5 separate regions of the Homo sapiens genome follow, and regions 1, 2, 3 and 5 are each linked to region 4. Evidence: promoter capture Hi-C in human tissues and cell types (Jung and others, 2019). All regions are on one chromosome and are shown on one strand. Each heading gives the region's core, a stretch centred on a gene start or on the middle of the fragment in contact. The rest is flanking DNA. Distances are from core to core; before and after follow the strand shown.

Region 1 (5,062 bases), core at 1,822-4,321, 290 kb after region 4:
GAGGTTACAGTGAGCTGAGATCGCACCACTGCCTCCAGCCCGGGCGACAGAGCGAGACTCTGTCTCAAAATAAATAAATACATACATACATACATACATACATACATACATACATACATACATACAAACATACAAAAACTAGCCAGGCAAGGTGGCAGGCGCCTGTAATCCCAACTACTGAGGAGGCTGAGGCAGAGGAATCATTTGAACCTGGGCAGAGACTCTCTCTCAAAAAAAAAAAAAAAAAAAAAGCAAGGACAAATGCCCCTCTGCTCCCACTCCAGAAATGCCTGGCCATCAGAGATGTGGATGGGTATCCAGGATTAGGGAAAAGTTCATGTTATCTCCCTGCAGAATGCTATGTTGGTGGAAATCCAGAATTTTTTTTAAATATATGCATACTTTTAGATTTATTTATTTTTAAACAGAGTCTCACTCTGTCACCCAGGCTAGAGTGCAGTGGTGTGATCTCAGTGCACTGCAACTTCCATCTCCCAGGTTCAAGCAATTATCATGCCACAGCCTCCCAAGTAGCTGAGGCTGAGATTACACGTGTGCACCACTACGCCAGACTAATTTTTTTTTTTTTTTGAAACAGGAGTTTTGCTCTTGTTGCCTAGGCTGGAGTGCAACGGCCGGATCTTGGCTCACCGCAACCTCCGCCTCCTGGGTTCAAGCAATTCTCCTTCCTCAGCCTCCCAAGTAGCTGGGATTACAGGTATGAGCACCACCACACCCAGCTAATTTTGTATTTTTAGTAGACATGGGGTTTCTCCATGTTGGTCAAGCTGGTCTCGAACTCCCGACCTCTGGTGATCCGCCCGCCTCTGCCTCCCAAAGTGCTGGAGATTACAGGCGTGAGCCACCACGCCCGGCCTTAATTTTTGTATCTTTAGTAGAGACGGGGTTTCACCATGTTAGCCAGGCTGGTCTCTAAGTTCTGACCTCAGGTGATCTGCCCGCCTCGGCCTTCCCAAGTGCTGGGATCCCAGGCGTGAGCCACCCCGCCCAGCCTAGATTATTTAAATATCACATCACAACTTCATATACATTTGAGATTAAAAGTGATAAAGTTCCAAGTCCCAAAGCAGCACGAGCTAAGGATACCATTTCCATTCAAATGAGTTGTTATTCTTCTCCCAAAAAGTGGATAAAGAGTGCAGACCTAATCACCCATCTACTTCTCTGTGTTATGTTACTTTCCCAAGTAATAAATATCACCAGCCTAATGGCCACTTTCTTTAAAGCTTTAAGTCTATTGTCAAAAGAAAAACACACCAATGTTTTTGATGTAGTGGCCTCATATCTCAACCAGCATAACCTCACCAAAGAGGCTACCAAACTCTAGAATTAAGTTTAAGTCCACACAAGTGAAAGTTTTCCAGGTGAATCAAGAGAGATCCAAGTTGCACTGGCACAGCTTCAATGTCTCCATGAGGAGGCTGCATGCAGGCAGGCTCATGAATCAAGTGGAACGACAACATCTTGGGCAAGAACAGGAGGGCTGGCATTCAACACTGCCTGCCTGGTCGGTTCCCTTGCCCTGGGCTCCAACCTGGCAATCCCAGGAGGGTTAAAACAGAACTTCAGCACACGGGAATAACCGCAGAGGAAGGCACCGAAAAGGAGGGAAGGAAGAAGGTGTGAGCTCACCATCTGCAGCTGAGGTTCAAACTCTTTGAGCTGGTTTCCTGATTTTCATCAAGACAGCCAGGCAGTATTTGGTAAACAGTGTACCAAGTAGCCCTGGAGACTCTGAGCAGCCTACCCCCTTAACCACAAAAACACCGGACAGGCGGAGGGAAAAAGAGAAGACAGGATCCAGGAATGGTGCACACACCCAGCCAAAGGCCACCTTCCCTCAGGCACCCAAGCCAAGAGTGGCATCCCCAGGTCCTGTTATACGTCAAAGGCTGCAGCCGTGTGGGCCCCAAAGCAATAGCACAGCTTGCTCCCCTGACCAACCAACTCCTTCTGAAAAGAAAATCGACCTTCTCTGATGGAGCCGAAACCCAATGAATCAATGAAATTCAACAGCAGCAGCAATCACTACCTCTCCAATTGCGGACCTCTCAGGATGCCTGGCCAGGCTTGAAAGCCCTAGAGGAGTAAGGAGTTCGGATTTCTGATTCAGTGAGTCTGGGGAAACTCTGAGGAGGGTCACAAGGGCAAACCTCCCCGGCCTCTCCTGCTTGGCCCCAGCCCTAGGACGTGCTGCGGTAAGGGCTTTGCTCCCCCCGCCCTACACACACACACACACACACACACACACACAGACACACACACACCACCCCCCCCCCCCCGGGACACGGAGGGTGGGAAGGAAGGAAATGGAGGCCGCTCATCAAAGCGCCCGAAATCAGCGCACCCGCGTGTGTCCTGCGTCGCCCCCCAGGCCACCCCAGGACTAAGCCCTGCCCTCTCACCGGCGCGTCCCAGCCACGCCTTCCCTCCAGCGTTGCTCCGGCACCCTCGCCTAACCTCTGCACGTCTCGGATTCCCAGCTTTCTCCTAAATCGCGTCCCTCCAAAAGTCGCCCCAGCTCCCCCTTCTGCAGCTGTCTACACCTCCCCCACTCATTAGCAGCTCTTAACCCCCGACGGCCCTGCTCCTGCACTTCCCTCTCCAGCAGGCCCCGGACCCCGGAAAACTGCCCCGCTCCCACAGCGCCGCCCCCATGGGCCCCCGCCCCTTCCCCGAGCCGACCCCACTCGCCCTCGTCCTCCCCAAGATGTCTTCTCCAGGCGCCCCCCGGGGCCCCGAGCACTCGCCCCCTCCCACAGAGACAGGAAGTTCCGCGCGGCCCGACCCGCTTCCCTCAGGGCGCGGAGCTCGGCGCGGCGGCCCTGACGGGGCGCGGGCCCGGCCGCGGACCAGCGCCCCCGCGTCCCGCCCGCGGCGCCCCAACCGTCGCGGCGACCCCTGACCTCGGCGGCCACTCACCTCCCAATCCGTCGCACACTCCGTTCAGGCTGCCACGGCGTCTCCAGACCCAGCTCCGGCCGGGCTCCCGCTACCGCTTTTGCTCCGGCAGCACTGCCCAGCCCTGCCCAGACCCCTGCGGCCGCTTCTGCCGCCAGCCGCGACCGCACCGCCCCCGCCGCTCCCGCTGGGCTCTGTCCATTGGCTACCGGACACCGAGCCCCGCCCCACAGCCTCCCCGGCGCCCCCGATTGGGCCAGATGAGTAGAGAGGCGGCTCACCCCGCGTGAGGACGAGGGAAAGCCCCAGGACGCGCATTGGTGACTTCTCCTGTCAATCAAACGGGGAGTGCCTATTTAATGGGCTGCGAGGGTGGCGCAGATTACTCTCCCAAAGCCGCTCGCTGGTGGTGGTCCTTGAGACGCGCTTCCCGGGGCTGGAGTTTTGCGGTTTCGTCGGCATCCAGGGGTAAGAGGGCGCGGCAGGGCAGCACCGCACCTGACCGGAAGTTCAGGGAAGGTAATCCTACAGTCTTTCAGAAAGTTTCCTCTCCCAAGGGACTCAAAGAAGCTAATGTCGTTAGGAGCTCCTCCGACTTGCGCCAAAAGCGTCATTCCACGTGGACCCGCTTAGTTTAAACGGGGGGTTGGGGGGGCGTATGTTGCTGCTCTCTCTAATAAAATATATTTGGATGGCAAGGCACCAGGCAATGCACACGCATTCTTTCCAATTCTCACAATCACCTTGCATGATAGGGTATTAGCCCCGTTCTGCAGAGGGAAATACTCTTGAAGGAAAATGGAGAGCACTTCCTGAGCACTGTCCTACGCGCTGTCCAAGCACTGCTTCATGTCATCCAGGTGGAGAGGATGGTGAGAGGAACCCCAGGTGAGGGGTGAGCCAGGTAACTTGCTGGGGGTGATGTGGAGTAAAGAGAGTAAATGGCAGAGCCAGGATTAGAAACCCAGGTCAGCCCAACCCTTGAGAATAATAATGATGACTGTGTAGCACTATGGGAAAATGCTTAAACTAAAACGTTAAAAGAAAAAGCCAGATAGAGCCAGGCATGGTGACATGCACCTGGAATCCCAGCTTCTTGGGACGCCGAGGCAGGAGAATCGCTTCAGCCCAGGAGTTTGAGGCCAACCTGGGCCACATAGCAAGACCCAGTTCTCTAAAAAGTAAAATAAAAGAAAATAATAATAAAAGAAAAAGCTAGATACAAAATGGTAGAAACTGTAGAATTGCTGCTACATATAGATAGGTATGAGAAAAGAGTCCACAAAGAAATCTAGTGGTTGTTTACTTTCTAGACTGCTCTGTGGCATTGTCCTTATGACAATAATTGAGAAAGAAACAAAAGAACCGGCTAGGCACGGTGGCTCACGCCTGGAATCCCAGTACTCTGGGAGGCCGAGGCGGGCAGATCACAAGGTCAGGAGTTTGAGACCAGCCTGGCCAACACAGTGAAAGCCTGTCTCTGCTAAAAATACAAAAAATTAGCTGGGTGTGGTGGCATGCACCTGTAATCCCAGCTACTTGGGAGTCTGAGGCAGGAGAATCACTTGAACCTGGGAGGCGGAGGTTGCAGTGAGCCAAGATCACGCCACTGTACTCCAGCCCTGGCGACAGTGCGAGACTCCATCTCAAAAAAAAAAAAAAAAAACCAACACACAGTGCCAGGACAAACCACTGCCAAGAAGTCTCTCCTCATTCTCCAGGACTGAGCCAACAGGGACCTCTTTGCCACCCACAATACCTGTGGACCATTTGTATAGATAGAACTCAGCCATCAGCTCTCAGCACTTTCATATCTGGGTAAGTTCCGCTTACATCGCAATTCCATGCCCTATAAAAATATAGAGCCTTGTCGGGCGCTGTGGCTCACGCCTGTAATCCTAGCACTTTGGGAGGCCGAGACGGGCGGATCACGAGGTCAGGAGATCAAGACCATCCTGGCTAACATGGTGAAACCCTGTCTCTACTAAAAATACAAAAAATTAGCCAGGCGTGGTGGCGGTCGCCTGTGGTCCCAGCTACTCGGGAGGCTGAGGCAGGAGAATGGCGTGAACCCGGGAGGCGGAGCTTGCAGTGAGCTGATATCGCGCCACTGCACTCCAGCCCGGGCAACAGAGTGAGA
Region 2 (5,216 bases), core at 1,940-4,439, 370 kb after region 4:
GGGAGGATCACTTGAGGTCAGGAGTTCCAGACCAGCCTGGCCAATATAGCAAGACCCCATTTCTAAAAAAAAAAGAAAAAATATTTTTAATCAGCCGGGTATGGGGGCGTAGCCAGCAGTCCTACTCAGTTACTCAGGAGGCTGAGGTGGATCACTTGAGCCTAGGAGATTGAGGCTGCAGTGAGCTATGATCCCGCCACTACACTACAGCCTGGCCAACAGAACAAGACTCTGTCTCTTAGAGAAAAAAAGTTAAAAAAAACAACAACAAAAAAAGAATTTTAAGGCAGGGCATGGTGCCTTACGCCTGTAATCCCAGCACTTTGGGAGGCCGAGGCGGGTGGATCACCTAAGGTCAGCAGTTTGAGACCAGCCTGGCCAACATGGTGAAACCCCGTCTTTACTAAAAATACAAAAATTTGCCGGGCATGGTGGTGCGCACTTGTAATCCCAGCTACTTGGGAGGCTGAGGCAGGAGAATTGTTTGAGCCTGGGAGACAGAGGTTACAGTGAGCCGAGATCGCACTATTGCACTCCAGCCTGGGCAACAGGGCGAGACTCCGTCTTAAAAAAAAAAAAAGAACTTTAAGATGGCGACAGCAGCATTAAACTAACTTCAGGGCTTGTCTGAGCACGGGGTCCTATGGTTCTGTACAGGTCACAGGCCCATGAGGCTGGCCTTACCCTAAGAAGCTGGCCACAGCTCCCCTCAATGAATCCCCACAAGAACTCTGCTGAGTTAATGGTGTTATCACCACTTTTTAAAAAATAGTGGTAAATTGGCCGGGCGCAGTGGCTCACGCCTGTAATCTTAGCACTTTGGGAGGCCGAGGTGGGCGGATCATGAGGTCAAGAGATCGAGACCATTCTGGCCAACATGATGGAAACCCGTCTCTACTAAAAATACAAAAATTAGCCGGGCATGATGGCACACGCCTGTAGTCCCAGCTACTCAGGGAGCTGAGGCGGGAGAATCGCTTGAACCTGGGAGGCAGAGGTTGCAGTGAGCTGAGATCACACCACTGCACTCCAGCCTAGCGACAGAGCGAGACTCTGTCTAAAAACAAAAAAAAGAAAAAGTGGTAAAATATGTATAACATAAAACTTAACCATCTTAGCCATTTTTAAATGTACAGTTCAGTGATGTTAAATATATTCACGTTGTGCAATCAGTCTCCAGAACTTTATCCTCTTGCTAAACTAAAACTCTTTACCCATTGAACACAATTCCCCATCCTTCCTTCCCCAGCCCCTGGTAACTGCCTTTCTACTTTCTGTCTTAATGAATTAGACTCCCTAAGTACCTCATCTAAGTGGAATCTGGGCCAGGCACAGTGGCTCATGCCTGTAATCCCAGCATTTTGGGAGCCTGAGGCAGGAGGATTGCCTGAGCCCAGGAGTTTGAGACCAGCCTGGGCAACATAGGGCGACCTCGTCTCTGCAAAAAAAAAAAAAAAGAAGAAGAAGAAGAAAGAAAGAGAAGGAAGGAAGGGAGGGAGGGAGGGAAGAAAGGGTTCGCTGCTGCTCTCTGAGCTTCGCCGTGCTATCAATGGATGACAAGAAGAACGAAGACACCGGAAAGTCGCTAAGAAAGACAAAGATTCAGTGAACAAATCTGGGGGCAGGGCCCAAAAGAAGAAGTGGTTCAAAGGCAAAGTCCGGGACAAGCTCAATAACTGAGTCGTGTTTGACAAACCTACCTATGACAAACTCTGTAAGGAACTTCCTAACCATAAACTTATAAGCCCTGCTGTGGTCTCTGAGAAACTGAAGATTCGAGGCTTCCTGGCCAGGGCAGCCCTTCAGGAGAACCTTAGTAAAGGACTTAACAAACTGGTTTCAAAGCACAGAGCTCAAGTAATTTACATCAGAAATACCAAGGGTGGAGATGTTATAGCTGCTGGTGATGATACATGAACAGGTCCAACCAACTGTACATTTGCAAAAATAAAACTTTATTAAATCAAAAAAAGAGGCCAGGCGCGGTGGCTCATGCCTATAATCCCACACTTTGGGAGGCCGAGGTGGGTGGATCACCTGAGCTCAGGAGTTCGAGACCAGCCTGGCCAACATGGCGAAACCCCGTCTCTACTAAAAATACAAAACTTAGCAGGGCATGGTGGCATGTGCCTGTAGTCCCAGCCACTAGGGGGGCTGAGGCAGGAGGATCGCTTGAACCCAGGAGGCGGAGGTTGCAGTGAGCCAAGATCATGCCACTGCACTCCAGCCTGGGCGACAGAGTGAGACTCCATCTCCAAAAAAAAAAAAAAAAAGAAAGAAAAAGAAGAAAGGAAGAAAGTAGAATCATACAGTATTTGTTATTTATTTATTTATTTATTTTTAGAGAGGACGTCTTGCTCTGTGGCCCATGCTGGGTGCAGTGGCAGGATCATAGCTCACTGTAACCTTGAGCTCTGGACCTCAAGTGATCCTCCTTCCTCAGCCTCTAGAGCAATTAGGACTACAGGCATGTGCCACCACACTCAGCTAATTTTTGTCTTTTTGTGACTGGCTTATTTCATGTAGCATAATGCCCTCAGGTTCATTCCTGTTGTAGTATGGATTTCCTTTTTTTTTTTTTTTAAGGCTGAAAACATTTCATTGTATGTTTTTAAGGCATTTAAAAAAATCCAGGGCGGGGGGAGGGGGGAGGGATAGCATTAGGAGATATACCTAATGTAAATGACGATTTAATGGGTGCAGCACACCAACATGGCACATGTATACGTATGTAACAAACCTGCACGTTGTGCACATGTACCCTAAAACTTAAAGTATAATTAAAAAAAAAAAATCCAGGGCCAGGCTTGGTGGCTCATGCCTATAATCCCAGCTCTTTGGGAGGCCCAGGCAGGCAGATCACCTGAAGTCAGGAGTTCAAGACCAGCCTGGCCAACGTGGCAAAACCCCGTCTCTATTAAAAATACAAAAATTAGCCGGGCATGGTGGCGGGCGCCTGTAATCCCAGCCACTCGGGAGGCTGAGACAGGAGAATCACTTGAACCCAGGAGGCGGAGATTGCAGTGAGCCGAAATCATGCCACTGCACTCCAGCCTAGGGGATAGAGCGAGAACCCGCCACCCAAAAAAAAAAAATCCATTCATCAGTTTCTACCTTTTGGCTATTGTGATTAATGCTACTATGAACACGGGTGTATATCTGAGACCCTGCTTTTAATTCTTTTTTTTTTTCTTAATAACTGAGATCAGGTCTCACTATGTTGCCTAGGCTGTCTCCAACTCCTGGGCTCAAGTGATCCGCCTGCCTTGGCCTTCCAAAGTGGTGGCATTACAGGCATGAACCACCACCCCAGGCTCCTTGCTTTCAGTTATCTGGGGTATGTACCCAGCGTGAGACTGCTGGATCATGTAGGAATTCTATATTGAACTTTCCGAGGACTCTCCATAAGGTTTTCCACAGCAGCTGCACCATTTCACATTCCCACCAACAGTGCCAGAGTTCCAATTCCTCCACATCCTGGACAATACCTGTTATCTTCTATTTTTTGATAGCAGTTATTCTAACGGGTGTGACATCCTCCCTGCCTTGTAAATATGGGAACTGAAGCTTGAAGGTGGTGAGTAACTTGCCCAAGGCCAGGCAGCAATCACTACAGCAGTCATCGTCACTGGGCAGATGTCTCAACACATCAGCCCCACTCACACTGCCACCAGGAGGCCAGCTCGCCGCTGTCACAGTGCCAGCCAATAGCACACACAAGTACTTCACCTTCGCTCCAGTCTGATGCTCCCTGAGGCCAACAGGAGCCCTCAGGCACGCCCCATGCCACTGCAGCCCCCTGGCCAGCCAGCTGGACCCGAACCTGCCTAGACCTGGCCATGCTCCTCCCCATGCTGCCCCACCCTCAGCCTCTAGCAGCCTTGCCCCCTTCTCCCCCACTTCCCACCACAGGCCCTGACTTCCCAGGGTCTCTGTCCCCTCCTCCCTCCCCCTTGCAGCATGGAGGTGGGAAGGCTGCCTCTTCTCCAGGTGAAAGAACCAGGTGCTCTCGGGATCTCTCCTTATCCTCCTTGCCCATTTACCTGAGCACCTAGAAGGATTAGGGAGAGGCCAGACAGCTGGGCCTCAGGCTCTGGCTTTGTCAGGCCCTTTTCTAGCCCCAAGGGGCTGAGGCCCAGAGCGCAGGCCTCCTGGCCTAGGGCCAAAGGGTGGAGTCCCTGGGGGCTCAGAGAACAATAAGAAAGCCAGCCGGGTGCAGTGGCTCACACCTGTAATCCCAGCACTGTGGGATGCTGAGACAGGTGGATTACCTGAGGCCAAGAGTTTGAGATCAGCCTGGCTAACTTGACGAAACCCTGGCTCTACCAAAAATACAAAAAATTAGCCAGGCGTGGTGGCACGTGCCTGTAATCCCAGCTACTCTGGAGGCTGAAGCACGAGAATTGCTTGAACCTGGGAGGCGGAGGTTGCAGTGTGCCGAGATTGCACCATTGCACTCCAGCCTGGGCAACAGAGGGAGACTCAGTCTCAAAAAAAAAAAAAAAAAGAAAAGAAAATAATCTTCAATCCCCAGAGCTGGTGGGAGACGAGGGCCGCCCCTACCTGTTATTCCTCCAAGAACCGCCCACAGGGTGGCTGTTTGTTTCCCTTGGGGGGCCTGGCTTTCCATTCCCTCCTTCTCTCCCCCTTCCCTTCTCATCCATTTCCACCCCTTTGCCCTCCTGCTGGGCAACCAAGTCCCCCGTGCCCCAGTTCCCCAGTCCTGGGGACCCAAGTGTCCACCCAGGTAAAGCCGAGGAGGTGTCCGGTCAGGGAAGGTTAAAGGACAATAACAAAAGTACCGACTGGTACCCCAGAGAGCCTCCCCACAAGTGGACTTCGAGTGCTTAACCTCTGCTCGCTCCTGCTCTTTACAATGGAGTTAATAATAGAACCAGCTTCCCGGGGCAGCTGTGACGATCAGATGAGACCATGCCAGTGACCGTGCTCAGCATGCAGCCCGCACAGAGGGCAGCTCCTAGGAAGACTGTTCATGATCAATCAAGGGGAAGCTGCTCAGAGAGGACCGCATGCCCAGAGTGTGAGAGTGTGTGTGAGTGTGAGTATATGTGGGTTGTGTGTGAGTGCATGGGTGTTGTGTGTGTGTGTTATTGTGTGTGTGGTGTGTTTGTGTGAGTGTGAGAGTGTGTGTGAGTGTGAGTGTGTGTTGTGTGTGAGTGTATGTGTGTTGTGTGTGTGAATGAGTGTTATTGTGT
Region 3 (5,767 bases), core at 872-3,371, 420 kb after region 4:
CTGCTTTGCAGCACTCGGTCTACCTCACTGCCCTGGCCCCAAAATACTTCCTAAAGACCGGGCTGGACCCAGCACCCGCCAGACTGCTAGGCCTCACGGGTGTGGAGCAGTTCCAACCCTCCGTACTGGACTGGCCTATGAAGGCAGTTCCCATCAACACCCACCTCTTGGTGTCCTGAAATCACCCTGCAATCTGGAAAGAGGTAGTTGGACACTTCACATACGGGGTTCTCTATGCCTAAAGACTTGCAGTGTTCCCGGGCTTCCAAACAGGCGAAGTTGAACTTGGACTGAGGCTGGCCGAGGACAGACAGCATCCCACTGGGGACAGCTTCTGAAGCTTCCTGCATGGCCTCAGCTCGGATTTTCACTGCATACAAACCTGGCCAGAGAGAAGCGCATTTGGAAAAATGAGGGCACAGAATGAAGGAGAAAAGGCCAGGCCTGAGAAACAAAGCCCAAGCTCCACTCTGCACTAGAGACAGGGGCACTGGTGTCTGCCACCAGCCAGCAGGGCCACAGTTCCACACACCTCCATCGACTGCACAAGCGCTCACCACCAAAAGTATGCTGCTGTGCTTGGCACTATACAAACTAACCCAAGGAGCTTCCTGCTATAAAGCTGGTTTGGAGTAGGACAGTGGTGCTCAACAGGCCGGGGGCAGTGTCCGGAGACGTTTTCCGGTTGTTCTGACTAGGGGAGAGTGCCACTGACGTCTAGTGGGTAGAGTCCAGGGATGCTGCTCAACATGCTGCACTGCACAGGTCAGCCCCCCTTGCCCCCAACAAAACAAATGACCTGGCCCAATAGCGCCACTGTTTTTTTTTTTTTTTAAATAGTGCCACTATTGAGAAACCCTGGTAAAAGGTAAAGAGGAACAGGGTGGAAGCCACATTGCCTTAGCCAAGTCACAACCTCCTTGAGGTTCAAATTTTTAGTTAGTAAAATGAGGATAATAATATCTAATCTGCCTGGGCTGTTGTGAAAGCTGGGAATTATTATTAGTTAGTTTATTAAGAGAGATCAGGCCGGGCATGGTGGCTTATGCCTGTAATCCCAGCACTTTGGGAGGCTGAGGCAGGACGGCTTGAGCCCAAGGAGCTCGACACCAGCCTGAGCAACATAGGGAGACCCTGTCCCTGCAAAAAATAAAATACAAATTAGCCAGGCATGGTGGTGCCTGCCTGTAGTCCCAGATGCTTGGGAGGCTGACACGGAAGGATCACTTGTGACCAGCAGGTTGAGGCTGCAGCTGTAGTAAGCTATGATTGCTCCACTGCACACCAGCCTGGTGACAGAGCAAGACCCTGTCTCAAAACAAGAACAACAAAAAAGAACCATCAGAGACATGGGCTACTGTACTACATGAATTTCAGTGACATAATTGTCATAAGTCAAGTGTTACTGTCCCCACTTAGAGCTGGAGAACCTGACACAGCCAATGCAGATGAACGAAAACCTATGACTCCTGATTCAGTGTGGCTCAAGAGCATGGAGAGAGGGCAGGCAGTGCCAATGATAATAAGAGTGGCCTGAGGGCTGGTCGCTGTGGCTCGCACCTGTAGTTCCGGCACTTTGGGAGGCCAAGGCAGGCAGATCACTTGAGCTCAGGAGTTCGAGACCAGACTAGACAACATGGTAAAACCCTGTCACTACCAAAAATACAAAAATTAGCCGGGCGTGGCAGTGTGCGCCTGTGGTCCCAGCTACTTGGGAGGCTGAGGTGGGAGGATTGCTGGAGCCCAGGAAGTTGAGGCTACAGTGAGCTGTGTTCATGCCACTGTATTCCAGCCTGGGTGACAGAGCGAGACCCTGTCTCAAAAATCCCTACAAAGCCACACATAAGAATGGCCTGAAACTACCAGACCCCTGACACCCTGGTCCTGCTTCCTGGGCAGAGAGAAGAGATGACCAGACTGAGAAGAGATTAAGGGACCTGCACAGTGTTTCACAGGTCAACAGAGAGGTCTAAGGAGCAAATCCTGACATATCTTCATTCACTTAGCACTTCTATGTACTGGACTTTTAGCTCCCTTACACAAGAACAGGAGGACAAATACATAAACAGCCTGTGACATCAGGTACTTAGGAGGCTAAGGCAGGAGGACTGCTTGAGATCAGGAGTTAGAGGCTGCAGTGAGCTATGGTTGCATCACTGCACTCAAGGCTGGAAGACAGAGGAAAACTCTGTCTCTTAAAAAACAAATGAACAAGAGCCTGTGACAAGAAGTAGAAGAAAACATACAAGAAAAGGGAGGAGAGCACGCAGACATCCTCCCACAGAGACATTCAAAACTATGTAAAATGTCAAGGGAAAAAAGTAGGCCAGGCACAGTGGCTAATGCCTGTAAGTAATCCCAGCACTGTAGGAGGCTGAAGCTGGAGGATCACTTGAGTCAGGAGTTCCAGACCAGCCCTGGCAACATAGCGAGACCCCATCTCTACAAAAACTTCTAAAATTAGCTGGGCATGATGGTGTGAGCCTGTAGTCCCAGTTAGTCTGGAGACTGAAGCGGGAGGATCACTTGAGGCCAAGAGGCTGAGGCTGCAGTGAGCTACGACTGCACCACTGCACTGCAGCTGGGGTGACAGAGCAAGATACTGCCTCAAAAAAGAAAAAGAAAAAGAAAACACAAAAGTGTAACTATGCTATAATTCTGCACTTTTTTTTTTTTTTTTGACACAGAGTCTCATTCTCTAACCCAAGCTGGAGTGCAGTGGCACAATCTCGGCTCACTGCAACCTCTGCCTCCTGGTTCAAGTGATTCTTGTGCCTCAGCCTCCCAAGTAGCTAAGATTACAGGTGCACGCCACCACACCCAGATAATTTTTGAATTTTTAGTAGAGATGGGGTTTTACCACGTTGGTCAGGCTGGTCTCAAACTCCTGCCTTAGGTGATCCACCCACCTTGGCCTCCCAAAGTGCTGGGCTGGGATTACAGGCGTGAGCCACCACACCAAGCCTAATTCTGCACATTATGTACACATAAAATGATACATGTAATAAAATTGTTTCATAAAATGTGAAATTATGAAACTTTCCTTAATAATGTTATAACGCTTAAAAAAAAAGCACTGCAGTGAAATTCACATAAAATATAATTAACCACTTTAATGTGTATAATTCAGTGGTATTTGGGGTATTCATAATGTTGTACAACCACCAACTCTCTCTAGTTTCAAACACTCCATGTCCACTATGTAGGCACTCTCCATTTCTCCCTCTCCAGTCCCAATAACCTCTCGTGTTTCTATACTAGATTCTTTTTTGTTTGTTTTGGACAGGGTCTTGCTCTGTCACCCATGCCGCAGTGCAGTGGCACAATCGTGGCTCACTGCAGCCTCAGACTCAGGGGCTCAAGTGATCTTCCCTCAGCCTCCTGAGTAGCTGGAATTACAGATGCATGCCACTAAGTGCAGCTAATTTTGTGTATGTGTGTGTGTGTGACAGGGTGTCACTCTGTCACCCAGGCTGGAATGCAGTGGCACGATCACAGCTCACTGCAGCTTTGACCTCCTGGGTTCAGGTAATCCTCCCACCTCATCCTCCCAAGTACTCGAGCTGGGACTACAGGCGCACACCAACATGCCTGGCTAATTTTTGTATTTTCGGTAGAGATGGGGTTTTCACCATGTTGCCCAGGGTGGTCTAAAACTCCTGGGCTCAAACATCTATCTGCCTCTGCCTCCCAAAGTGCTGGCATTACAGGTGTGAATCACTGCACCCAACGTAATTTTTGTTTTTTGTTGGGGGCAGAGATGAAGGTCTCACTATGTGGCCCAAGATGGTCTGGAACTCCTGGCCTCAAGTGGTCCTCCTGCCTTGGCCTCCCAAAGCACTGGGATTACAGACGTAAGCCATGGTTCCTGGCCAGCAAAAATCTTAAGAAGTAAAACTGATATGGCTCCAGATCCAATATTTATTTACTCTTTAATTCAACGAATATCTACTGAACACATACTCTCGTGTTGCAGGTGCTGCAGGTATGAGTGCACAGGATAGCGGGTTAGACAGTTCAGCAAGCAGATTTCATGAGATTACAAAAATAAGGGAAATCCCTAATGAATCCTTCAGTCTTGAAAAGGAATCACAGCAAAGCCCTGTCCTCATGTGCCAATGTCACCCCTGTCCATGTGCTCCCTTCCCATCACCTGAGTGGGTCCAGTATCATTTTTGGCAGTGTCCCTTACCCCTAATGAGCCCAAGACCACAGCCTTGCATAAAACCAAACTCCTTCCTGTACCTTCAGCAAATTCCATGGCTCCGGCAAACACTAGGGCTGCAAACTCTCCCACACTGAATCCAGCAGCAGCAACACAGTTCTCAATCACCTGTGGGGACAGATGCAGAACGTGAGCCCTCACTCTCCTGGGGATCCCAGTTCCAGGGCTCTGTACCTGAGAGCTGGCGGGGTGTTCAGCATCTCAGTGAGCCAGGTTCTACGAACTTGGTGCACCAGCTGGAAGAGGACACACAAAAGTGACCTTGACAATCATTGAGTCCTGCCCCTTTATTTAGGAGGAGCTTTCCTGGTTAGTTACAGTCCATCAACTCCGTCCATGGTCACACTGACGCCAACCCAGGGCTCTGGATTCCCTTGCCATGGCCCTGCAGCAGGCTCTCAGGCCATATCGTTGTGCACAAGTTAAGAGCATGACTTTTTTTTTTTTGAGGCGGAGTTTTGCTCTTGTTGCCCAGGCTGGAGTGCAATGGCGTGATCTCGGCTCACTGCAACGTCCGCCTCCCGGGTTCAAGCAATTCTCCTGCCTCAGCCTCCCGAGTTGCTGGGATTACAGGTGTCCACCACCACACTTGGCTAATTTTTGTATTTTTAGTAGAGACGGGGTTTCACCATGTTGGCCAGGCTGGTTTTGAACTCCTGACCTCGTGATGCACCCACCTCAGCCTCCTGAAGTGCTGGATTATAGGCATTATAGGCGTGAGCCACCTCGCCCGGCCAAGAGCATTTTTATCTCATCTGTGAAATGAGGGAAGAACAGGGCCTACCCCAAAGGGCGGATGAGAGAATTATGTGAATATAATGTCTATACAGTGCTTAGCACAGACCCAGACTAGGGTAAGCAGTGAATGAATATTATGATGACGATTCAACAGGACCACTTAACTAATTCTTTTAATATCCCTGAGTCTGCATTCCTCAACCATCAAATAACAGTATTAACCTCACAAGGTGGTGTGAAGGTGAAATAGGGTAAAGGATCTCAAGTGCTAGCTTAACATTTACCGTCTTATTAAATATTAATAGCAATCAATCCACCACCTTCAAGTGAAGTGACATTCTCAACTCATCTCAATGTTCCTTCATTTAGGCCAGTGCAGTGGCTCATACCTGTAATCCTAGCACTTTGGGAGGCCGAGGTGGGTGAACCTGGGAGGATTTAAGTAAAGAATAAAAAAATTAGCCGGGCGTGGTGGTGTGCACCTGTGATCCCAGCTACTGCGGAGGCTGAGGCAGGAGAACTGCTTGAACCTGGGAGGCAGAGGTTGCAGTGAGCCAAGACTGCGCCATTGCACTCCAGCCTGGGTGACAGAGCAAGACTCTGTCTCAAAAAACAAAACAAAACGGGCCGGGCACGGTGGCTCATGCCTGTAATCCCAGCACTTTGGGAGGCCGAGGCGGGCAGATCACGAGGTCAGGAGATCAAGACCATCCTGACTAACACGATGAAACCCCGTCTCTACTAAAAATACAAAAAATTAGCCGGGCATGGTGGCGGGCGCCTGTAGTCCCAGCTACTTGGGAG
Region 4 (4,964 bases), core at 2,234-4,733:
CCTCCCAGGGAGGAAGCACCAAAGACTGGGGCCCTCCCCTCCGCTGACTTCCAACTCCCTCTGGGGAAGATCAAAGCCAATTCATCAAGTGTCCCCCAAGCCCCTCCCTCTTGCCTCCTGTCCTCACCAGCCCGGGAGGATCCTTGGGAGCAGCACTGCATCCTCCCACCTCCTCAGTCCTCGGAGACCTCAGCCTATCAACCTGTCCCTCCTTCTCCTGGGCCTGAGGGAGCTGAGCTCTCTCTTCTAGCTTTCCCATCAGCTCATAAATGCAGCCAAGTCTCCCTCATCAGAAAGCACACACACAGATAAAGTAAAACAAAAAACTTGCTGCTCCTCTCTATCTCTCTGTCTCACAGACATACACCCACACACACACCCACGCACGCACAAACACACCCACAAATAAGAGCCAAATGATAAACTGGGGAAAGATCCTTGGCACACAAAGACCAGACAAGGGGTAAAACCTTACTGATGAGCTCAAACCAATCAATAAGCAACACACAAAGAACCTGGCTTCTCGTACTCTGACCCAGGAGTTTCATTTCTAGGAAATACGAAGAAATATCTAGCTGGGTCCAGATACAGCCATTCTAGAAGTTCATACGCACTGATTACCAGGTTAATTCCTTCCCAGGAAAGATGTGGCCATGTATAAATGTATGCAGAAATTCAATGTAACATTATCAAAAAGAGCCAAATATATTTTTAAAAAGTCAAGAGATCCAATAACTCAACATGACATAGCAAAATGCAAGCATTGAAAAATATAAAAAATGTCTGCGATGAGGAATGCTCGTGAAATTATACTAATGGAAAAATATTTTATATAGACAAGATATGCAAATACAGAAAAACGTGTTATTTTATTATTTATTTATTTATTTTTGGAGACGGAGTCTCGCTCTGTTGCTCAGGCTGGAGTGCAGTGGCGCCATCTCGGCTCACTGCACTCTCTGCCTCCCAGGTTCAAATGATTCTCCTGCCTCAGCCTCCTGAGTAGCTGGGATTGCAGGCACGTGCCACCACGCCCAGTTAATTTATTGTATTTTTAGTGGAGATGGGGGGTTTCACCAAGTTGGCCAGGCTGGTCTCGAACTCCTGACTTCAAGTGATCCACCCGCCTCAGCCTCCCAAAGTGCTGGGATTACAGGCGTGAGCCACCTCGCCCGGCTGGAAAAACGTGTTTTTAAAGGTCTGGCAAAAAAAAAGGCAAATGTTAACAATAGTTGTCTTCAAGTATGCAAACAGGAATTGTTTTTCCTACTTCTTTCGGTTAATTCATTCAAACAATATTCAGGAAGCACCTGCTAGGTGCCAGGCCTGGCACTAGGCTCTGGGATCTGGACAAGGGTCCTTCCCTCCAGGAGCTTCCAATCTGGAGGGAAGCATGCGGTGAGCCAATGAAAATGCAGGGTGATCAACAGGAGTTTGTGAGCACGCCTAGCAGGTCCCCAAAGAAGGAGGCAGCTGGGGAGAGTGAGAGGAGGTGCACTTCAGAACTCAGATGGCTGGCTTGGTGGTGGAGGCCGTCCACCTGCCACCACCTTCCGGGACCTGCATCCCCAGCTGAACTGCATCCTTGGAGGTCTGAACCCAGTGGCCCCGTGGCCAGGTGGGCTTGGGAGTTGCTAGCTGGGGCTGATGTGGTAGTTCACAACCTCCTGGTGTTCCACACAAACCACCTGGAGATTCTGCCAATCCTGCTCCACACTGGGGTCCCAGGGCCCATCACACGAACTGGAAATTAATGGACCCATTAACCTAGCAGCTAGAGGGCTTCAATTAGTACAAGGAAACAAAACATATTTTGTAGATGGCTGTCCATTTTGGAGTTTATCCTCTAATACTGAGCTGTCCTAGCAGACAAGAAACGACAGGCACCCAAGGCATTAGAAAAATGTTTGAGAGAAAAACTAATGACAACATTGGGTGTAGTGGTGTGTGCCTGCAGTCTCAGCCACTAGGGAAGCTGGGGTGGGAGGATCGCTTGAGCCTAGCAGTTTGAGACTACAGTGAGCTGCCACAGCATTCCAGCCTGGGTGACAGAGGGAGACCCTAAAAAACAAACAAACAGAAAACTAATGACAGAGAGGATTCCATCTCTCCTCTTCCTTTCTTTTCCTTTCTATTTTGTTTTCCTTTGTATTCCTTTGATTTGGGGACCCTCTTTTGGGGGGTTGCAGCTATGGAAACACAGTGTAGCAGGGTTTCGGGTCCTGGAGAAGGTTTGAGGCTGGAAGAGGGCTGTGGGAAATCTTGAGGGAGGCCTGGCTCCATCCGCACTCTGCTATGGGACCCTGGGCAGGGTGGCTCCCTCATTCTTTGGGAGGAGGTGACAAAGGGGAAGTCTTTGGGCAGCTGGTGGCGGGAACGGGAAGGCCAGACCTGGCCTGAGACCCACCAGGTGCTCGGGGTTATTTGCTGAGTGCAGGGTACGTGACCCCAAGGGGCCTTCGCGGAACAATCACTCGACGTTGGCGGAGGGGAGGAAGCCGCAGAGAGGGTGTCGTGAGGGAAAGGTGGGTGCAGGGGAAATGGCGCTTTAACCCACTCAGGGCCAGAGGCTCAGCCGAGACTATCCAGGTGGGAACTTGTCCCTCCGGATGACAGGTGATGAAACTGAGGGAAGGGGACTCGCCCTGGCAGTGAAACGGGATGGGCGCTGGGACCAGGTGCCCCGGCAGATCCTCTCCCAAGCCCAGTTCCGCTCCCGCTCAGTCCTCAACCTTCCCCAGCTGGAGAGGAGGGAGGGGCGCCTGCGGATCCGAGGCGAGCGCGGAGGCCGGGCGACTCCAACCGGCTCGCCCCGTGCCCAGCTCGTACCCAGGCCGTTTCCCGCACGGGGAGGGCCCTTCCCGCTTCTGGGCAGGTCCAAATCCTCACCCTCCCTAAGGCCGGCGCCGACGCTGCCAGCCCGGCAGAGCCCCCTCCTGCCGGCCGCTCTCCATCCCCGTCCCCGGTCGCATCCGCTCCGGGGCGAGCACCGCCCGACGCCCAGGCTTCCCCCGGACGGAGGAGCGCGACTCACCCACGGTGGCCGGGCAGAGCCTGCCTCGAACCCGGCTTCTCCCCGACGCCCTCTCTCCAGCCCCGGGACCCAACCGGGTGGGGCTGCCCTCGAGGGCTCCGGAGCCAGGCGCGTCCTGCCCGCGAGGGCCGGGGCTCCGGGTCCCGCCGCCGCGCTCCACTTCGGGGCGCAGTTGGGGTGGAGGCGGTGGCCGGGACCGCCGCGCGGGGTTCGTGCGCGCACAAATGTCGCCTCCAGAACAGGTGGCCCGGGCTAGGGCGGCGGCCCAGCCCCTCCGCCCCTGCCCCTGCCTTCCCGAGGCGCCTCCTCCCCACTGCGAGCCGCAGGATCCCCCTGGAGCCCCCGTCCCCCGCAACATCGGCGCGGCCCCTCGTACCTCTAGCTCCAGCGGCGGCGGGCGGCGGACAGCGGGGCCCCGGCGGGCGGGCGGCGCGGCGGCCGGAGGGCAGTGCCTGGGGCCCGGCGGGAGGCAGCACCGCCCCTCCGGCCCGGGGCGGGGTCAGGCCGCCCCGCCCCGCCCGTCCCGACCTACCCTGCGGGTCCCGGTCCCCAGAGCCCTTGCGGGGTCCCCGCGACCCCGCCCGCGCGCCCTCGCTGCTCCCCGGGGCGGGTGCGGACAGTCCCCAGTCCGCCGGCCAACAGGTAGGGAGCGCTCCCCGGCCTCCGCGCCGCCAGTATTACGGGTTACCATCCCGTTTTCCCCATTGAACTGATGAGAAAACTGAGGTTCAGAGGGTTGAGTACCTCGATATTCTGCAGTGGAGAAGGGACGCTGTCACCCCTGGGACCCGGGTCGGCCTGATCCCACCGCCTCCTGCCGGGACCGTGCTAAGGGCATTGCCTGCATCACCCCAGTGTTTGCGGAATTCCAGTTATTTGCTGTATCCTTAACGCCGCCCCGTCCTTTCTCTACTCCTCCTCCTCACTCTCACCTCGCCCCATCTTCACACATATTGCTATTGGTAATTTGTTCAATGTGAGAAATTGGAATGTATCACACACAATTCGTGTATCATAAAACTGTATTTTATTCTCTTTGGAACATGCCATGTTTCCAGCATGTCACAGTCCTGGTGCTTTTAGTTCTTACTCCTCTGGGACAACAAAGACTGCAAAAAATGAAACCATTGGGTGACTTCTTGAGTGCTGACGCCCATCCTCTCACTCAGCTGATGACCCAGTGCCCAAGCCACTGAGAAAATGGAACCTCTATCCTAGCCCTGAGAAAGAGCCTGGCACTCAATGGGTGCCCAATAAATACACTTCGAATGAAGGAATCAGTAGAAAATTCCCACCAGCTCCCCCACCCACCCGCTGAGGTAGCACCCAGTCCCTTCCCTCTTGGGACCGGGCTGAACCCGTCCAGCTCCTGGCCACGACCACCCCCTCCAGAAGATCCCGACCCTTCACGCCAACACTGATCCCGAAACCCTGCCCTCTCTCCATTCTCCCTGGGTCATTCCCATCACAGGCTGTTACTTCTCCCATCTTAAAACGGAAACAAGAGGCCAGGCAAGCACTCACGCCTGTAATCCCAGCACTTTGGGAGGCCAAAGCAAGCAGGTCACCTGAGATCAGAAGTTCAAGACCAGCCTGGCCAACATGGTGAAACTCCATCTCTACAAAATACAAAAATTAGCTGGACATGCTCACTTGAACCCAGGAGGTGGAGGTTGCAGTGAGCCTAGATCATGCCACTGCACTCCAGCCTGGGTGACAAGAGCCAGACTCTGTCTCAAAAAAAAAAAAAAAAAAAAAAAAAAAAAGAATGAATGCGGACCCTTTCTCCACTGGTAATACTCATTTTTTTTTTTTTTTTTTTTTTTTTTTGAGAAGAGACTCACTCTGTTACCTAGGCTGGAGTGCAGTGACACCATCTCGGCTCACTGAAACCTCTGTCTCCTGGTTTCAAGTGATTCTCCTGCCTCAG
Region 5 (5,682 bases), core at 77-2,576, 340 kb after region 4:
GCTCATCTCCCTAATACTCTCAGGCTTAATCATTTATGCCTCACAGCACAGGCTGTGGAGTGCTGCCGGGATACCCTTCAAGACCAAGGCACTCATTCTTCTAGCTGAGACCCACCCTCACTGAGAGTGCCCTTGGCTTGAGGGAGCTGCCTAATCCAGGGTGAAAGCCCTCCCCAAGGCAACAGCATACCATGTCTGGCTGATGCCAGGTGTCAGCCCCTGCTCCCTCCAGGACAGCTCTGCAGGGCCACCCCTGCTCCACAGCGCCCCACGGTGGGCAGAGGCCTCCACTGCAGCAACATCAGCTTGCCGACTTCTACCTCAGAGTCTTTCCTGGGGAAGCCAACCTAAGACACTGGGCTCACACTGCAGTTTAAAAGCACCACACTCATCACTCTCTAACAACCTTGAGAAGACGCCATTATCATCCCATTTCACAGGGGACGCCGGGCTCAGAGAAGCTGTTACTTGGCCAAGCTTTCCTCCTGGGCTGGGATGGGGCTGGGCCTCCAGCCCAAATGTTCTGATGCCACTTCTGAGCTCTTCCTGTTTTGCCACCCCTGAAAATTAATTCTCCATACAATGCTTATCTTTGAAGGCAAAGAGCTAGAAAATACCCAAATGTATTACATTGTTAGGAGACTACATTTCATTTTCTAAGTATAAAGTGAGAACCATGAACTAAAACAAAACCAGCCTACTAACTCTTCGAGCAAACACCACTGACTCAAAGCAGATAAAAGGAGAATTAACCATATTTTAAAAGAAAGTCCAGGCGCGGTGGCTCACGCCTGTAATCCCAGCACTTTGGGAAGCTGGGGTGAGAGGATCACCTGAGGTCAGGAGTTCGAGACCAGCCTGGCCAACATGGTGAAACCTCGTCTCTACTAAAAACCCCAGCCAGGTGTGGTGGCGTGCACCTGTAACCCCAGTTACTCGGGGGGCTGAGGCAGAAGAATCGCTTGAACCCGGAAGGCAGAGGTTGCAGTGAGCCGAGATCCTGCCACTGTACTCCAGCGTGGGTGACAGAGCAAGACTCTGTCTAAAAAAACTAATAATCATAAATACATAAATAAAAAATAAAATTTGTAAAACTGATGCTTGCTTGGTTTACTCTGAGGAAGACCTGAAGGGGAAGCGAGTTAGGCCAGCCACATGTGGAAGCCACTTGGCCCCGGTAAGCAGTGGCCATCGTCATCCCAAGACCAGCAAGGTGAACCCCTGGCTCCTGTTGGCAGCTGTGGGGCCCAGAGGGCTGGTGAGCTGCCCAAGTCACACAGAGGTAAGTGATGGGCAGAGGACCGAGTCCAGCCTCGTCTGACCAAACTCTTCAGCAGGTTCTTCAGAAATGCATATTTCATACCAATACTCACTCTCTTTCTCCTCAAATCAGAAAACAGACCAGAGCATTCAAGGCTTCCATCCAAAGAAGATTCAAATCAAAGAAGGAGTCTTTCATAAAGAAACGAGACCTTTGGTTTATGTTGGGGTGAAATTAGAGCCCCTAACCTGAACTGGGTCCACAAAGCCCTGTGTGTCTGCCCTTGCTGGCCTCTCCAGTCCCTCCCCATCCACTGCCCTCACGCCAGGGGCTCCTGCTACCCTGGCGTCCTTTCAGCCCCTGTAATGCTCCCTCTGGCAACAGGGCCTCGGCACACGTTGTACCTACTACTATGGAACCTTCTCCACCCTCTCTGGATTATCCCTACTCATGCTTCAGATCTCGGCTCCAGCACCGCTTTGCAGGGAAGCCTTCTCCAACCACTGGATAAGGGGCTTCTTTTGTTCCATGATCTTCTAGATGTGTGTTCCTCACTTTCAGAGCAAGCAGCTCAGTTTGTAATTTCATGTTCATCAGGGTGATTATTTGATGACTATCTCCCCTGGAAGCTCTGGGATCTGTGAGAGTAGGTACTAAGGTAGGCTTTGCCTATCACTGTGTCCTGGGCACTCAGAAGGGGACCAACTCACATAGGTACTCAATGGGTACAGATGGGGCCTCCGATGGGGCTATGTCCAGATAAACCCATAGCAAGTTGAAAATATTGTAAGTTGAAAGTAGATTTGGCCGGGCGCAGTAGCTCACACCTCTAATCCCAGCACTTTGGGAGGCCGAGGAGGGTGGATCACGAGGTCAAGAGATCAAGACCATTCTGGCCAACATGGGGAAATCCCATCTCTACTAAAAATACAAAAATTAGCTGGGCGTGGTGGCGCACGCCTGTGATCCCAGCTACTCAGGAGGCTGAGGCAGGAGAATCGCTTGAACCTGGGAGGCGGAGGTTGCAGTGAGCTGAGATCACGGCACTGCACTCCAGCCTGGCAACAGAGCAAGACTCTGTCTCTTAAAAAAAAAAAAGAAAAGAAAAGAAAAAAGAAAAAAAAAGAAACTGCATTATTTAACGCCAGGCGCAGTGGCACACGCCTGTAATCCCAGCACTTTGGGAGGTTGAGGTGGGCGGATCACTTGAGAAAATGAGTTCGAGACCAGCCTGGCCAACATGGTGAAACCCCATCTCTACTAAAATACAAAAATTAGCCAGGCATGGTGACACATGCTTGTAGTCTCAGCTCCTCAGGAGGCTGAGGCAGGAGAATCACTTGAACCTGGGAGACAGGTTGTGGTGAGCTGAGATCATGCCACTGCACTCTAGCCGGGGCAACAGAGCGAGACTCCGCCTCAAAAAGAAAAAAAAAGTGCGTTTTCTATACCTAACCTACTGAATATCATAGCCTTGCCTATCTAAGACATGCTTAGAACACTTACAATAGCCTGAAGTTGGGCAAAATCATCTAAGGCAAAGCCTATTTTATAATAAAGCGTGAAATACCTCACATAATTTATTGACTACTGTACTCAAAGTAAAAAACCAAACGGTTGCATGTGTACTTGAAGTACGGTTCCTACTGAATGCATGTCACTTTCATACCACTGGAAGCTTGAAAAATTGTAAGTTGAGGCAGGGTACCTCAGGGATGGTCTAAGCAGAAGTCACCTCATGACATCCTCCCACAGTCCCGCCAGGTAATACTATGATCTCCTTTTATAAATGGAGAAACCGAGGCTCTGAGAGTTACACTGACTTGCCCGAGGCCACAGAACTAGAAAGGCAGGGCTTGAGCCTGCTGCCTTCTTTCTCCAGGTGCCCCCACCCAGCCACGGCATTCAGCTGATGTGTCCTAGGCCAGCCCGCCTGATGCCTAGAGCCTCCCAGTCCCATCAGTGCCGGACCTTAGACCAGGATACTCTTTGAGTATCACTTCTATACCCACCCTGTTCTTGCAAAAATAGAAGAAAGAAACCCACAAAGTCGGTCCTTTTTTTTTTTTTTTTCTTTTGAGACAGAGTCTCGCTCAGTTGTCCAGGCTGGAGTGCAATGGTGCAATCTCGGCTCACTGCAACCTTTGCCTTCTGGTTCAAGCGATTCTCCTGCCTCAGCCTCCCGAGTAGCTAGAATTACAGGCGCCAGCCACCATGGTAATTTCCGTATTTTTTTTTTTAGTAGAGACAGGGTTTCATTGTGTTCGTCAGGCTGGTCTCGAACTCCTGACCTCAGGTGATCCACCCGCCTCAGCCTCCCAAAGTGCCGGGATTACAGGCGTGAGCCACCACACCCGGCCTGAAAGTCAGTCCATTTCTGTAAGCACAAATGAAAGGACACACTCACCCCGTGTTTCTGGATGGCGACGTTGGTGAGATGAACGAACATGTTGTCCAGCTCACTGGTACTCGGGGTGTATTTCACTGTGCAGAACCGGCAAAACCCAAGCTTGTACCTAGGAGGGAATGTAGATTAATTCAAACTCTGAGGAGAAACAAAAAGAAAAGACACCACTTCATTCTCTAAAAAGAGCTGCTTTTGTGTGTGTGATTTACACGACTCACATCGGCATCGGGCCTGACTGCTCTTACTTCCCTCAATCCCTGCCCCGTGCCAGGCACCGCACATGCACTGTTTTATGAAACCTCACAATGGTGCTAAGAAGAAAGACGTTTTGGGTGAAAACACAATCAAGAGGGAACCAAAACCTTAGGGACGCTTACATGTAACAGCGCAGTGGACGGTACGTGGACACCAGAACGTACAAGCGCAGGTCGAACTTCCTCCCGCCAATTAGTAACGGGTTGTTAATATAGAGAGAGATCACGTAGGCTTCCTTATTAGATTGAGACACAAACCTAAACATGGCAGAGAAAGTAAAAATTAGATGGTAAAAGATGCAATAACGAAGACACAATCCAAGAAAGGAATAACTGATAAGCCGGACTTCATTAAAATTAAAAAATTAAAGAGTTTTGGCTGGGCGCGGTGGCTCACGCCTGTAATCCCAGCACTTTGGGAGGCGAGGCGGGTGGATCACTTCAGGTCGGGAGTTCAAGACGAGCCTGGTCAACACGGTGAAACCCCGTCTCTGCTAAAAAGAAAAAAAATTAGCCCGGTGTGGTGGTGTGTGCCTGTAGTCCCAGATACTCAGGAGGCTGTGGCAGGAGAATCACTTGAACCCAAGAGGTGGAGGTTGCAGTGAGCTGAGATGGCACCACTGCACTCCAGCCTGGGTGACAGAGCAAGACTCCATCTCAAATAAATAAATAAGTAAATAAATAAATAAAGACAGTAAAAAGATCTGTGGTTGCCACAGACTAGGGATAAACAGGCAGAGCACAGAGGATTTTGAGGGCAGTGAAACTACTCCGTATGTTACTATGATGGTGGATCTGGACGAGCTTGGTGGCTCACGCCTGTAATCCCAGCACTTTGGGAGGCCGAGGCGGGTGGATCACCTGAGGTCAGGAGTTCGAGACCAGCCTGGCCAACATGGTGAAACCCTGTCTCTACTAAAAATACAAAAATAGCCAGGCATGGGGGCGGGTGCCTGTAATTCCAGCTACTCCAGAGGCTGAGGCAGGATAATCGCTTGAACCCGGGAGGCAGAGTTTGCAGTGAACCAAGATCCTGCCACCGCACTCCAGCCTGGGCAATAGAGCAAGACTCCATCTCAAAAAATAAATAAATAAAATAATGGTGGATCCATGTCACTATACATTTGTCTAAGCTCCCAAAATGGACAACACTAAGAGTAAACCCTAATGTGAACTATGGCCTTTGGGTGATGATGGGCTGGTGTCAGTCTGCCAATTTTTATTTATATATATATATTTTTGAGACACAGTCTTCCTCTGTCACCCAGGCTGGAGTGCACTGGCGTGATCTTGGCTCACTGCAACCTCCACCTCCTGGGTTAAAATGATTCTCCTGCCTCAGCCTCCTGAGTAGCTGGGATTACAGACGCCAGCCACCATGCCTGGCTAATTTTTGTATTTTTAGTAGAGACAGGATTTTGCCATGTCGGCCAGGCTAGTCTCAAACTCCTGACCTCAAGTGATCCGCCTGCCTTGGCCTCCCAAAGTGCTGGGATTACAGGCTTGTGCCACACACATGGCCAAATTTTTTTTTTTGAGATGGTCTTGCTGTGTTGCCCAGGCTGGAGTGCAGTGGTGCGATCACAGCTCACTGCAGTCTCCTGGGCTCAAGTGATAGTCTCACCTCAGCCTGGCAAGTAGCTGAGACTACAGGCATGTGCCACGACACCCAGCTAATCAGTTTGCTAACTTTAACAATTCTGGTAGGGGATGCTGATAAGGGGGGAGGCCGTGCATGTGTGGGGAAGGGGTATAGGAAA

Evidence for each region. Contacts are between HindIII fragments. The study calls those that stand out against the background at their distance.
Region 1: a contact is called between the fragment with the promoter of PACSIN2 here and the fragment with the promoter of A4GALT in region 4, in 4 of the 25 tissues and cell types used here (liver, lymphoblastoid cells, mesenchymal stem cells and 1 more).
Region 2: a contact is called between a fragment that was not itself captured here and the fragment with the promoter of A4GALT in region 4, in 5 of the 25 tissues and cell types used here (H1 embryonic stem cells, aorta, liver and 2 more).
Region 3: a fragment that was not itself captured here is called in contact with the fragment with the promoter of A4GALT in region 4 in 3 of the 25 tissues and cell types used here (IMR-90 fibroblasts, aorta and mesenchymal stem cells).
Region 5: a contact is called between a fragment that was not itself captured here and the fragment with the promoter of A4GALT in region 4, in 3 of the 25 tissues and cell types used here (lymphoblastoid cells, mesenchymal stem cells and spleen).

What each region holds. Positions count from the first base shown.
Region 1 is chr22:43,012,078-43,017,139 of GRCh38, forward strand. It overlaps PACSIN2 (protein kinase C and casein kinase substrate in neurons 2), which reads right to left and starts at 3,072. Exons shown (of 11, transcript NM_001184970.3): 1 at 2,944-3,072. RefSeq lists enhancers at 2,674-3,377, 3,360-3,559 and silencers at 2,800-2,869, 2,990-3,039, 3,050-3,239. The HindIII fragment of the contact is 29,159 bases long and covers 1-5,062 here.
Region 2 is chr22:43,090,617-43,095,832 of GRCh38, forward strand. It overlaps the pseudogene RPS25P10. Among named protein-coding and RNA genes, the nearest start is that of TTLL1, 3.8 kb to the left of the region's middle. The HindIII fragment of the contact is 8,604 bases long and covers 1-5,216 here.
Region 3 is chr22:43,136,917-43,142,683 of GRCh38, forward strand. It overlaps MCAT (malonyl-CoA-acyl carrier protein transacylase), which reads right to left. Exons shown (of 4, transcript NM_173467.5): 2 at 4,246-4,333; 3 at 165-382. Among named protein-coding and RNA genes, the nearest start is that of MCAT, 3.6 kb to the right of the region's middle. RefSeq lists an enhancer at 523-692. The HindIII fragment of the contact is 7,455 bases long and covers 1-5,767 here.
Region 4 is chr22:42,717,387-42,722,350 of GRCh38, forward strand. It overlaps A4GALT (alpha 1,4-galactosyltransferase (P1PK blood group)), which reads right to left and starts at 3,484. Exons shown (of 3, transcript NM_017436.7): 1 at 3,411-3,484. RefSeq lists silencers at 2,924-3,053, 3,134-3,363, 3,394-3,583. The HindIII fragment of the contact is 38,593 bases long and covers 1-4,964 here.
Region 5 is chr22:43,060,145-43,065,826 of GRCh38, forward strand. TTLL1 (TTL family tubulin polyglutamylase complex subunit L1) reads right to left here. Exons shown (of 11, transcript NM_012263.5): 6 at 4,046-4,180; 7 at 3,669-3,777. Among named protein-coding and RNA genes, the nearest start is that of TTLL1-AS1, 24 kb to the left of the region's middle. The HindIII fragment of the contact is 4,055 bases long and covers 1-3,354 here.